Regions from separate parts of the Homo sapiens genome. Here region 2 is linked to region 1. Evidence: promoter capture Hi-C in 16 types of primary human blood cells and fetal thymus (Javierre and others, 2016). All regions are on one chromosome and are shown on one strand. The core of a region is centred on a gene start or on the middle of the fragment in contact, and the rest is flanking DNA. Distances in the headings are between cores, read along the strand shown.

What was found. The method cuts DNA at HindIII sites, captures the fragments that hold promoters and counts their contacts. A CHiCAGO score of 5 or more calls a contact.
Region 2: a contact is called between the fragment with the promoter of ZNF283 here and the fragment with the promoter of ZNF567 in region 1, in 5 of 17 cell types (non-activated CD4 T cells, activated CD4 T cells, total B cells and 2 more). The highest score is 10.3, in non-activated CD4 T cells.

The regions. Positions count from the first base shown.
Region 1 is chr19:36,685,282-36,690,812 of GRCh38, forward strand. It overlaps ZNF567 (zinc finger protein 567), which reads left to right and starts at 2,331. Exons shown (of 6, transcript NM_001322917.1): 1 at 2,331-2,353; 2 at 4,116-4,216. It overlaps ZNF567-DT (ZNF567 divergent transcript), which reads right to left and starts at 2,168. Exons shown (of 4, transcript NR_110708.1): 1 at 1,987-2,168; 2 at 1,405-1,525; 3 at 556-734; 4 at 158-230. RefSeq lists enhancers at 2,138-2,187, 2,748-3,387 and a silencer at 2,388-2,447. The HindIII fragment of the contact is 4,431 bases long and covers 1,812-5,531 here.
Region 2 is chr19:43,824,628-43,829,697 of GRCh38, forward strand. It overlaps ZNF283 (zinc finger protein 283), which reads left to right and starts at 2,694. Exons shown (of 7, transcript NM_181845.2): 1 at 2,694-2,817; 2 at 3,575-3,654. RefSeq lists an enhancer at 2,552-2,751. The HindIII fragment of the contact is 6,325 bases long and covers 1-4,951 here.

The DNA.
Region 1 (5,531 bases), core at 1,081-3,580:
GGTCTCAAAACAAAAAAAGGGGAGACCAAATTGGCTAGTTAAATAAATGTATGTAGGTGTTATATCACACCCCTGAATAATTCCTCCGAATCGGGGTGGGGGTGTCAGTCATCTGTACTCCACCCAGAAGTCAATGCCACATTCCTGAGTCTACATACCCGTGAAATGATAGGAACCCATGTGCCCATAAGGTCCTGGAGGGGAATGCAAAGTTGGTCAAGACATGGGAGCTAGACAGCAAGGAAAAGGAATTGCAAAGGGAAGTTAGTAGTTAAATAAGTTACCACATATCCATGTAATATAATACTAAGATAGACAAATGCAAAGTTGTAGAAAATAGTTAAGGAATATTTTCAAGATACTGTATCAGAGAAATCACTTTACAAAACAGGTTGAACAATACAATTATATCAATATGGTCATTTAAAAAGTCTAGAAAGTTAAACACCTGTTTCAGTTATTTATTGCTATATAACCACCTCAAAAGTTTATGGCTTAAAACAAAAAACAATTAGCTTATTATTTGGGGGGCTTGGCAATTTGGGCTTGGCTTGCCTGAGTGGTTCTTCTGCTGATCATATTCATGTGACAGCTGTCAGCTGTTGGCCTGGTGGAGGCTGGATGGTTCAAGATGGTCTCCCTGAAATTTCTGGCCGTTGTTGCTCACTGGACCTCTCTCTCCAAGTGATCTTTAATGCGCAAGCAAGTTGCTCTTAGCCTTCAGTCATGGTGGTCTCAGGGCAGGAAAAGGGGAAGAGAAAAAGCTGCAAGACTTCCTGAAGCTTTGTCTCAGAAGTCTCACAATATCACTTCCACCACATTCTATTGGTCAAAGCACCTCACAAGGCCCTGCCTAATAGTAACCTAACCACTGACTAGCATTTCAGGAGGAGAAAAAATACTCCCTTGCTGAAAAACAAAATCAAAGAGAACAAAAATAGAAAATACAACAAAACTTCCTTGACCTTGGTTTTCAGATATGCTCAGCAATGGTTCCCTTTCCTCAGGGCTCTTAGAGAACCTCAAGGCAAGGGAGAAGGGGTAAGGAATCATGAGACATCAGACCTTTCTTGGAACCCAGATTGGCTAAATTGGAAAAAATTATTGCCACCACACGAGCTCTCATCATCTACCATAAACATACTCAGATGGAAGTAAAAGGGAGATGGGAGTACTGCTAACCCTTCTTAGTATTCAAGGGAAAGGCCAGGGTCACTGATATCCAGGACTGGGGACTTTCTCAAAATTCACGTTAAGTCTCCTGCGGAGACAGCTCTGGGAATGATGTGGATCACATGGAACCTGACCTCTGAGAGTTCCCAAGGGAGAGCCTCTGAGGAAGGAATCCTACTCCTAGGTTCTCCCCACGACGTCTTCCCAGAACTCTGCTTAAGGGACACTTACAACTCGAAAAGCCTCGTTCCGAAAACAGGTCTGTCCTTTTTCTGTTTGCAGATTTTATTCCACCACTCGATTATCCCTTCCCTTTTTGATGGCCATTTCACTGCAGCTGGGGTCTATACAGCTATAAAGCGGGAGAAAAAAGGAAGCTGGGAACTCAGAGATGCAGAGCCCAAGAAACAATCGAGTCTAAAACTGCCGCTTAGGTGGGCACTCCGCCAGGATCCCCTGTGTCAAACACCAGGCTGAGAACTGGGGACAGGTGTGCCCTGAGAAGACAACGCGGGCCATGCTTCATTGCAAGATGACTCTGCTTAACATAGGCATGGATCATAGTCCTCACAGGCACATTGGGGAGATCTTCGACAGACCCCTCAGTCCCAACATTAAACACAGCACTGCAGAAATGAAGCTTTACCCGTTACACACACAACACCACAGACCTAAAAGGCTCTTCCATCACACGGCCACAGCAGCACTGTCATGATGGAAGGTCTCAAACCCTACAGTGTCACACACCCGACAGCCGACCACGGCCACCCAAAGGTCCCGCATCCGAGCAGGGACAGGAACACAATCACGCACCTGTCGCAGCCTCCTCGCCGCGCACACCGCCGCCTTGTCCTGGCATCAAACACACACGCACAGGTGCATACACAGGCCCGAGCTACGGCCCTGCACACCCTGTCTGCGTCCCGGGAGCTCGGGGCTTCCTCACCGTGAGCGCCGCCCTCATCCCAGCCACGCACTATGAGAATTTGGAAGGGGAACCAGAGATCAAAGTTCGAAAACCGCCCGGGCGCCTGTGGGAAATGTAGTCCAAGGCCGGAAACGCCCGGATGTGGAGAAGGCGCGCGTAGCCGGTGGACAGCAGGAACGCGCCGCGGAGACACCTGGGAGGCATCGTCCGCGTGGGAGTGCGCATGCGCAGACGCCCGGCCGGCAACCGAAGGTGAGGCTGGTGGGTCCCGCGGGCGCGGAGAAGGCGGGTGACGGTGTGACCCGTAAGGAAGGCTGAGGAGGGAGGCGGGAGCCTGGGCTGGGGAAAGCAAGAAGGGAAGAGGAGCAACCTGGGACGAGGAGTTGGCTGGAGGAAAGTGCGAGTCCGGGCCTCAGAGAAGGCTGGGAGGGAAGCAGGAACCAGAGCGCGGGCCCGGGAGCACCTGAAGAAGGGAACCGGTTGCCCGAGGCGGGGGGTGAGCTCCCCAGTGGCAGGAATTTCGTCTGATTTTCGTCCCCTGGCTCCTGGAGCACGGCCTGGCACACAACAGGCGCTCCGTGTGTGTGTGTGTGGCTTTTCGTACCTGTCCTGTGTGTTGTGGTAGGGGAATGTGTTATTCTGTGTGACGTTGTGGAACCGGTTGTTTATGAAAGTGATAGGGTCCCTGCGTGTCTTAAGTTTTAATTTAAATTAGATGCGAGTCGATTTGTGTTTGAGCCTGTGTCCGACTCTGGAGAGGCGACAGTGAGGGCATTGTGAGTGAAAGGTTGTTACTTTTTGTAGAAGTTCTGTGAAATTGTGCACGACGTGGGGGCCTATGGGATTATGACTATGTAGTGGGTGATACAGCTATGAATATGCCTAATTTTAAAAGTATTTGGTGTACACGACCTATGATGACTGTGAATGTGGCACACTGTGTGACTTAGGTGGAGTGCTTGAGAAACCGAGTGTTGACTAAAGTATGCATTGTTTAGATTGATTTATGAGTATTGGGCATTTTATATATGCCTGTAGAATTTGACTCTGGTAATTAGACAAGTAAAATAAGTAGTGATTTTTTTTTTTTAATGGAGAGGAAGAGGCAAAATAATTTTCAGAGGGTAAGATTGGGCCCATGCGGGCCGGGCGCGGTGGCTCACGCCTGTAATCCCAGCACTTTGGAAGGCTGAGGCGGGCCGATCACGACGTCAGGAGATCGAGAACATCCTGGTTAACATGGTGAAACCCCGTCTCTACTAAAAATACAAAAAATTAACCGGGCGTGGTGGCGGGCGCCTGTAGTCCCAGCTACTTGGGAGGCTGAGTCAGGAGAATGGCGTGAACCCGGGAGGCGGAGCTTGCAGTGAGCCGAGATCGTGCCACTGCAATCCAGCCTGGGTGGCAGAGCAAGACTCCGTCTCAAAAAAAAAAAAAAGATTGGGCCCATGCGCGGTGGCTCACGCCTGCAATCCCAGCACTTTGGGAGGCTGGGGCGGACAGATCACCTGAGGTCAGGAGTTTGACCAGCATGGTGAAACCCCGTCTCTACTAAAAAATATAAAAATTAGCTGGGCATGATGGCGCATGCCTGTAGCCCCAGCTACTCGGGAGCTGAGGCAGGGGAATCGCTTGAACTCGGAGGTGGAAGTTGCAGTGAGCCAAGATCGCGCCACTGCACTCCAGCCTGGGCGACAGAACGAGACTCCGTCCCTTCCCTTCCAAAAAAGATCATTTATTGGGAAACCTGGTATTGACTGATGACTGATATGCTTAAATGAATAGAATACCACTGGGACCACACAGAAAAAAACTTTATCTCATAACTGCCACTCTCAAAATTCCTATTTGAGAGTGTGTGTGTGTGTGTGTGTGTGTGTGTGTGTGTGTGTATTTATTTTTTTTTTTGCTGGATGAATTTCTTCTGCTGGAAGCCTGAAATGTGAAAGGATACATGATTAGTTTCTTCTCTAATTCCCCAACCTTTATTTTGTCTCCTCTTTACTCCCTATAGGCAGTCTTTAGCTCTCATGGATTGGGAGCTGGGAAAGGAATGAGAAGACAGAAGTCAGAGACAAGAAGAGGCTAACATGACTGATACCACTATAATTTAGTGTAAGTCATCTCTTACCTTCCAAGAGAACCTGCTGCTTGGAACCTCCAGATACACTTCCCTTCTCATGGGCATAGCCTCTTCTCCAGCTGCTGCCCCAGTGCTTCCTCTGGGCATTCAGTGGCCCACCGACTCTGGTGGGTGGGTTTGTCCAGTCATTCCTCTTTGATAGGACCCAAGACAACCCAGACAGCCTCCACCCATGGGGTCTTCACCTAGTGCTAAGGTGAGAATTAGCCACCTCAGTCACTTTGCCCTCCCAAATCTTAGAAATATGTAAAATTTTTGCCAAGAATTCTCTCACCACTTTGGTTCCTGGTGGCCTCAGGGTCTGAGGGACCCCTTGTGTGTTGTAAAAAAGGGAGAATCACTCACGTTTTTCCCCCTGGAAAAACACTGTTCTAAAAATAACAGTCTCTTAAAAATACATGCTCCTCTCTCAGCCTCTCCACTGTCTTTAAAGGAGGAGTTTAATGATAGCAAAATTTTACACTCAACAGCTCTATAAGATCCTGTTCTTGAATGAAGTTCTCTTAGAATTTTGTTTCATTTGCTATCTTTGGGATATCAGCTGAGGCTGAGGCAGAAATATTTCTAAGTTTTCATCCTATTAAAAATTGAACAGTGATAACAATTAGAAAACTCAGGGTTGTTGGAAAAAACATTAACAAATAAATAGGGGGTGTGTGTGTATGTGGAAAGTATGGGGAAAAAGACTTATTTACAGTGGTCATCAAAAATAAGAGATACAAAGGAAGTGACTTTACTAATTACATGATATGTTATTAAAGAGCACATTTTAAAATAGGACTTTTGGTGGGGCTTGGTGGCTCATACCTGTAATCCCAGCACTTTGGGAGGCTGAGGTGTGTGCACTGCTTGAGTCCAGGAGTTCAAGACCAGCCTGGGCAACTTAGTGAAACCCTGTCTCTACAAAAATACAAAAATTAGCCAGGCGTAGTGGCACGCCCCTGTGGCTAGCTACTCAGGAGACTGAGGTGGGAGGATCACCTGAGCCCAGGGAGGTCGAGGCTGCAGTGAGCCGTGATCACACCACTGCACTCCAGCCTGGGCAACAGAGTGAGACTTTGTTTCAAAACAAAACAAAAGAAACTATAAAACTCTTAGGAAAAAACACATAGGCATACATCTTAATGATCTTAAATTTGGCATGCATTCTTTTGGAGTTTCTTTCATGGTGATTGAAATGTTCTAAAATTAGGTTGTGGATGATTGTTCATTATGATGGTTTGTGAATATACCAACAACCATTGAATCGTATACTTTAGATGGATGAATTTTATGGTGTGTAAATTA
Region 2 (5,070 bases), core at 1,444-3,943, 7.1 Mb after region 1:
AAACAAAGGGCCTGGGACTTAATTAAACTAAAGAGCTTCTGCGTGGCTAAAGGAACAGTCAGCAAAGTAAACAGACAACCCACAGAGCGGGAGAAAAATTTCACAATCTGTACATCTGACAAAGGACTAATATCCAGAATCTACAAAGAACTCAAATTAGCAAGAAAAACAAACAATCCCATCAAAAAGTGCGCTAAGGACATGAATACACAATTCTCAAAAGAAAATATACAAATGGCCAACAAACATAAGAAAAAATGCTCAACATCACTAATGATCAGGGAAATGCAAATCAAAACCACAGTACAATACCATCTTACTCCTGAAAGAATGTCTATAATGGAAAAAAAAATAGATGTTGCCGTGGATGCGGTGAACAGGGAACACTTCTACACTGCTGGTGGGAATGTAAACTAGTAAAACCGCTATGGAAAACAGTGTGGAGATTCCTTAAAGAACTAAAAGTAGAACTACCATTTGATCCAGCAATCCCACTACTGGGTATCTAGAGGAAAATAAGTCATTATACAAAAAAGATACTGGTACACACATATTTACAGCAGCAGAATTCACAATTGCAAAAATGCTTAACAACCCAAATGTCCATGAATCAATGAGTGGATAAAGAAACTGTGGTAGATATATACAGTTGAATACTACTCAGCCATAAAAAGGAATGAATTAATGCATTTGCCTGGATTTATTTATTTTTCCTTTTTTTTTTAAGATGGAGTTTCCCTCTTGTTGCCCAGGCTGTAGTGCAATGGCGCTATCTTGGCTTACTGCAACCTCCACCTCCCAGGTTCAGGCAATTCTCCTGCCTCAGCCTCCTGAATGGCTAGGATTATAGACACCCACCAGCGTGCCCGGCTAATTTTCGTATTTTTAGTAGAGACAGGGTTTCATCATGTTGGCCAGGCTGGTCTTGAATTCTTGACTTCAGGTGATCCAGCTGCCTCAGCCTCCCAAAGTGCTGGGATTACAGGTGTGAACCACCATGCCCGGCCTGGAGACTATTATTCTAAGTGAAGCAACTCAGGAATGGAAAATCAAACATCGTATATTCTCACTCATAAGTGGGAGCTAAGGTGTGAGGATGCAAAGGCCTAAGAATGACACAGTGGACTTTGGGGACTTGGGGGAAAGGGTGGAAAGGGGGTGAGGGATAAAAGACTAAAAATTGGGTGCCATGTACACTGTTCAGGTGATGGGTGCACCAAAATCTCACAAATCACCACTGAAGAAGTTACTCATGTAACCAAACACCACCTGTTTCCCAAAAACCTATGGAAATAAAAAATTAAAAAAAAATCAGACCCCCAAAATATTCAGAGTAGTACTTGTGGGAGTCATTGAGCAAGTAACATGGGAAGAGAGGAGGCTGCTTCCACCAGTGGTTTTGGAGGTGGAGCAGATGCTGATGATAATGAAGTCCCAGATGGGAAACGGGGATGGGTGCCGAGGAAAGCTCAAGGACCCTGCAGATGAGGACTCAGACCCACGATACTGGATGAGGCATCCATGTCACCATGGGAGTCAACCAGGGTAGTGGCCTCAGCTGAGGCAGGGGAAAAGCTGGGATCCAAGAGCTCTAGTCTTCTCTTGATAAGCAAGAGAGACCAGGAGGTGAGAGATGGCAGAGGATGAGAGAGGTGATATCAGTGACCAGAAAGAGCCCCTAAAAAGTAACTTCCTTTTCTTTCTGTTAGTTTTAATATAAAATTTCGCTTTAATATTTTTAGACAATTCTTTTTTAAAAAAGTATTTATATCCAAAGGTTCTTACCACACCAACCACAGCCCCAATCTTTTTGCCCTAACCTCAGAATCAGTTAGTTGTCTCCTTTAAAACCTTTCTCTCTCTCACACACCCACACACACACACACGCAAACACACAGGAGAGAGAGAGAGGGAATATATAGTATTGTTTTTGGAGTATGAGTGTGTGCTTCAGAATAAATGGTTTCATACTCTATAAAAAATGAGATTCAAATTTTATAATCCATCAAGTTTTATTGGAACACAGCCATGCTGGATTGCTTGTGCATTGTTTATGGCCGCCTTTGCACTGCCATAAGTCTCCACGGTCACAATATCCACTCACTACCACTTATTGTTGTCTTTCAACAGCGGCATATAAAATCTGTAACACAGTTCATCTCACACCTAATAAAACAGACTCACACAGGCATAAATTTAGAAAACATCCCATGAACATAAACAGGTCCACGCAGGGTCCCAGACACCGAATCGAACTAAGAAACTCCCTCACAGCAAGACACACCCATCTGTTCAATTGCCAGACACTGTTCCAGGCGCTCATACCCAGGTAAACTGGTAGTGTCGCGCAGGTCATTTCCAGCGAACTTACCCCGGATTCCCTTGCTCGCTCACGTCTAAGTCCCCAGACACCCCAGTCCCATCTTCGCCTGTTCTAGACTCCAGAATGCGTTCCTTAGCGAAAGCTGAGAACCTTTTAATTCGCTCTCAGTCAACACCAAAGACCCTCAAGCAAAAGCAAGAGCTCCCGGGCGTCTTCGAAAAAAGCGCCTTTGACAGGTGAAGCCAAGTTGCATGCTGGGAGCATCCCTGCTGTCCAGGTTTCAACTTCCGGAGACTCTGCCGCTGTGGACTACATTTCCCAGAAGTCTCCGGGGCACAGGCCTTTTAGGGGCGGGGCGAGCTTGCCTGCCAGAAGCTCCTCTCCCAGCCTGCGAGCATTTCCAGGCTCTTGTTTCCCATCAGCCTCTGGGTCCAAACTAACCACAGGTCTCTGGGTCCTTTTCCGGTGTCCTTAAGGTTCTTGGACTCTGCATGGTGAGTTGGTCGTGTCTGTAGAAGTAATCAGCCCGGGTGAAGCTGGGAGGGCTCGGCTGGCTTTACTGGGGCCCGACTGGAACCGGCAGTGAGGGTGGGGGTGGCATCGGGGGTGCTGGAGGTGGGGAGGGCTGGGTCACGGACAGAGCGTGTCGTGTCCGGATCCTCAAGCCTGTGTGCACGCGAGCAGCCGAGGGACAGTGTGTCTCAGACGGCGTGGCAGGGACGGGGCGTGTCCCCACGGAGGTGGGTGCAGTTGTGAATGTGTGACGGGCTGACAGGGTGCGTGGCCGTATTTGTAAATGTGATTTGCTTTGACCAAATGCTCTAGGTTCCCTTTAGCCTGTCTTCGGGCCTGCCACAATTAAATGACCGCAAGAAAGAAGTCTATGCTAAGCCCCATAATGAACGTTTCAAGCAAGAAGGATGAGAATTTTAGATCTGGAAGTGTCCGCGGGACAGGATCTTGTCAAGACCTGATGGGGAAGTTCTAGAGGTGGGATTCCTAGAAGAGGGGCCTCTAGGAGCTCTTTGGTGGTGAGCTACATGTTTCAGAGCCATTGCAAGCAGACCTCTGTCCCCAAGAATTGCCCTCAACACAGAGACAGACTCTAGCCTCCCTTTTCATTCCGTTTGGTTTTGTGTGGATGAAGGCAGAAGTGGCCCCAGAGGGTGTTTTGCTCTTCTTTTTCTTTTTTAATTAAGTCTGTGACGCGCTAGAAATGCTGATGTCTCATGTTACTGTTTTTTCCCCCAGTGCTGCCAGGTTGCCAGATTTCTAAGAAGGAGTTTGAAGAGGAGAAAAGGATTTTTGCATGTTTAGAAATCAAGGTTCAGGTGAGGTTTTTTATACATACTTTTTAAATACATACACATACAATTACCTTTGCTTCTAGGTCATGAGAACATTTTCTTTCCTTGGCCTGAAATATCTTGACTGGGTTTTCCCAGTTACATGACCCGCCATGCTGGTACATATTTCCTCCCAGTGGCCCCCTATTGTTCTTCTCCACAATTCTTACCCACCTGTTCATATGGCAAATTGTTCAAATACTTCAGTGCATTATGATGCACTGAAGAGTTATAGAAAGGCACCTCTTGTAGATTGCTATTAGAGCATTATTTTATACTATGATTATTTGAAGAGATTAGTAATTAGGTGGTGTTATATAAACATTATTTTTTATCTTTTCTGTAGTCATAATTAAAATTTTTTTTTAACTTTTTTTAGAGACAAGGTCTCACTCTGTTGCCCAGGCTGAGTGCAGTAGTATAGTCATAGCTCAGTGCAACCTTGAAGTCCTGGGCTCAGGTGTTCCTCTGGCCTTGGCGTCCCAAAGTGCTGGGACTGCAGGTGTGAGCCACCATGCCTGGCCCATAGTCATGATGCTTAAAGAAAGGCAAGGTATAAGGGATTTTAAGTAAGGGAATGTTTCTGGCAGTAAATGACAATGTTGTCTGCTTTGTGAGGCTTTTAGGGGTGGAAATATGATTGAGCTTTGAACATAGGGATTTGTAATTTGCACCAACAAGAGTGGGGACTTTCAGATAATCTTTAGATAGAAATCTGTAACATTTCCAAGCATGACTTGTTTGAAGTCCAGCTTTCTGTGGCATGTAAGAAGCCGTACTATGTTGTAGTTAAAAATAAGGCCCTGGGGTCGGGCACAGTGGCTCACGCCTGTAATCCCAGCACTTTGGGAGGCTGAGGGAGGTGGATCATGAAGTCAGGAGATCGAGAACATCCTGGCTAACACGGTGAAACCCCGTCTCCACTAAAAATACAAAAAATTAGCTGGGCGTAGTGGTAGGCGCCTGTAGTCCCAGCTACTCGGGAGGCTGAGGCAGGAGAATGGCGTGAACCCGGGCGGTGGAGGTTGCAGTGAGCCAAGATTGCACCACTGCACTCCAGCCTGGGTGACAGAGAGAGACTCCATCTCGAAAAAACAGCAACAACAAAAAAATTAAGGCTCTGGATCCAAAGTATCTGAATTCAAATCCTGGCTCTGCCTGTTGGTAGCTGTGTGTGCTTAGACAATTGATTCAGGCCCTCTGTGCCACATCTATAAAATAGGGACAGGATAGTACCTACCTAATGGAGTTGATATGATGTAAGATGAGATATTATATGTAAAGCTTCGTAGAGCAGTGTCATCCCCATGATATGGGCTTACTGAATATTGAGTTGCTATTATTGGGCTCTTCTAGATTATTTCCCATAAACTTTTTATAGATTAGAGTAACAGAAGTATG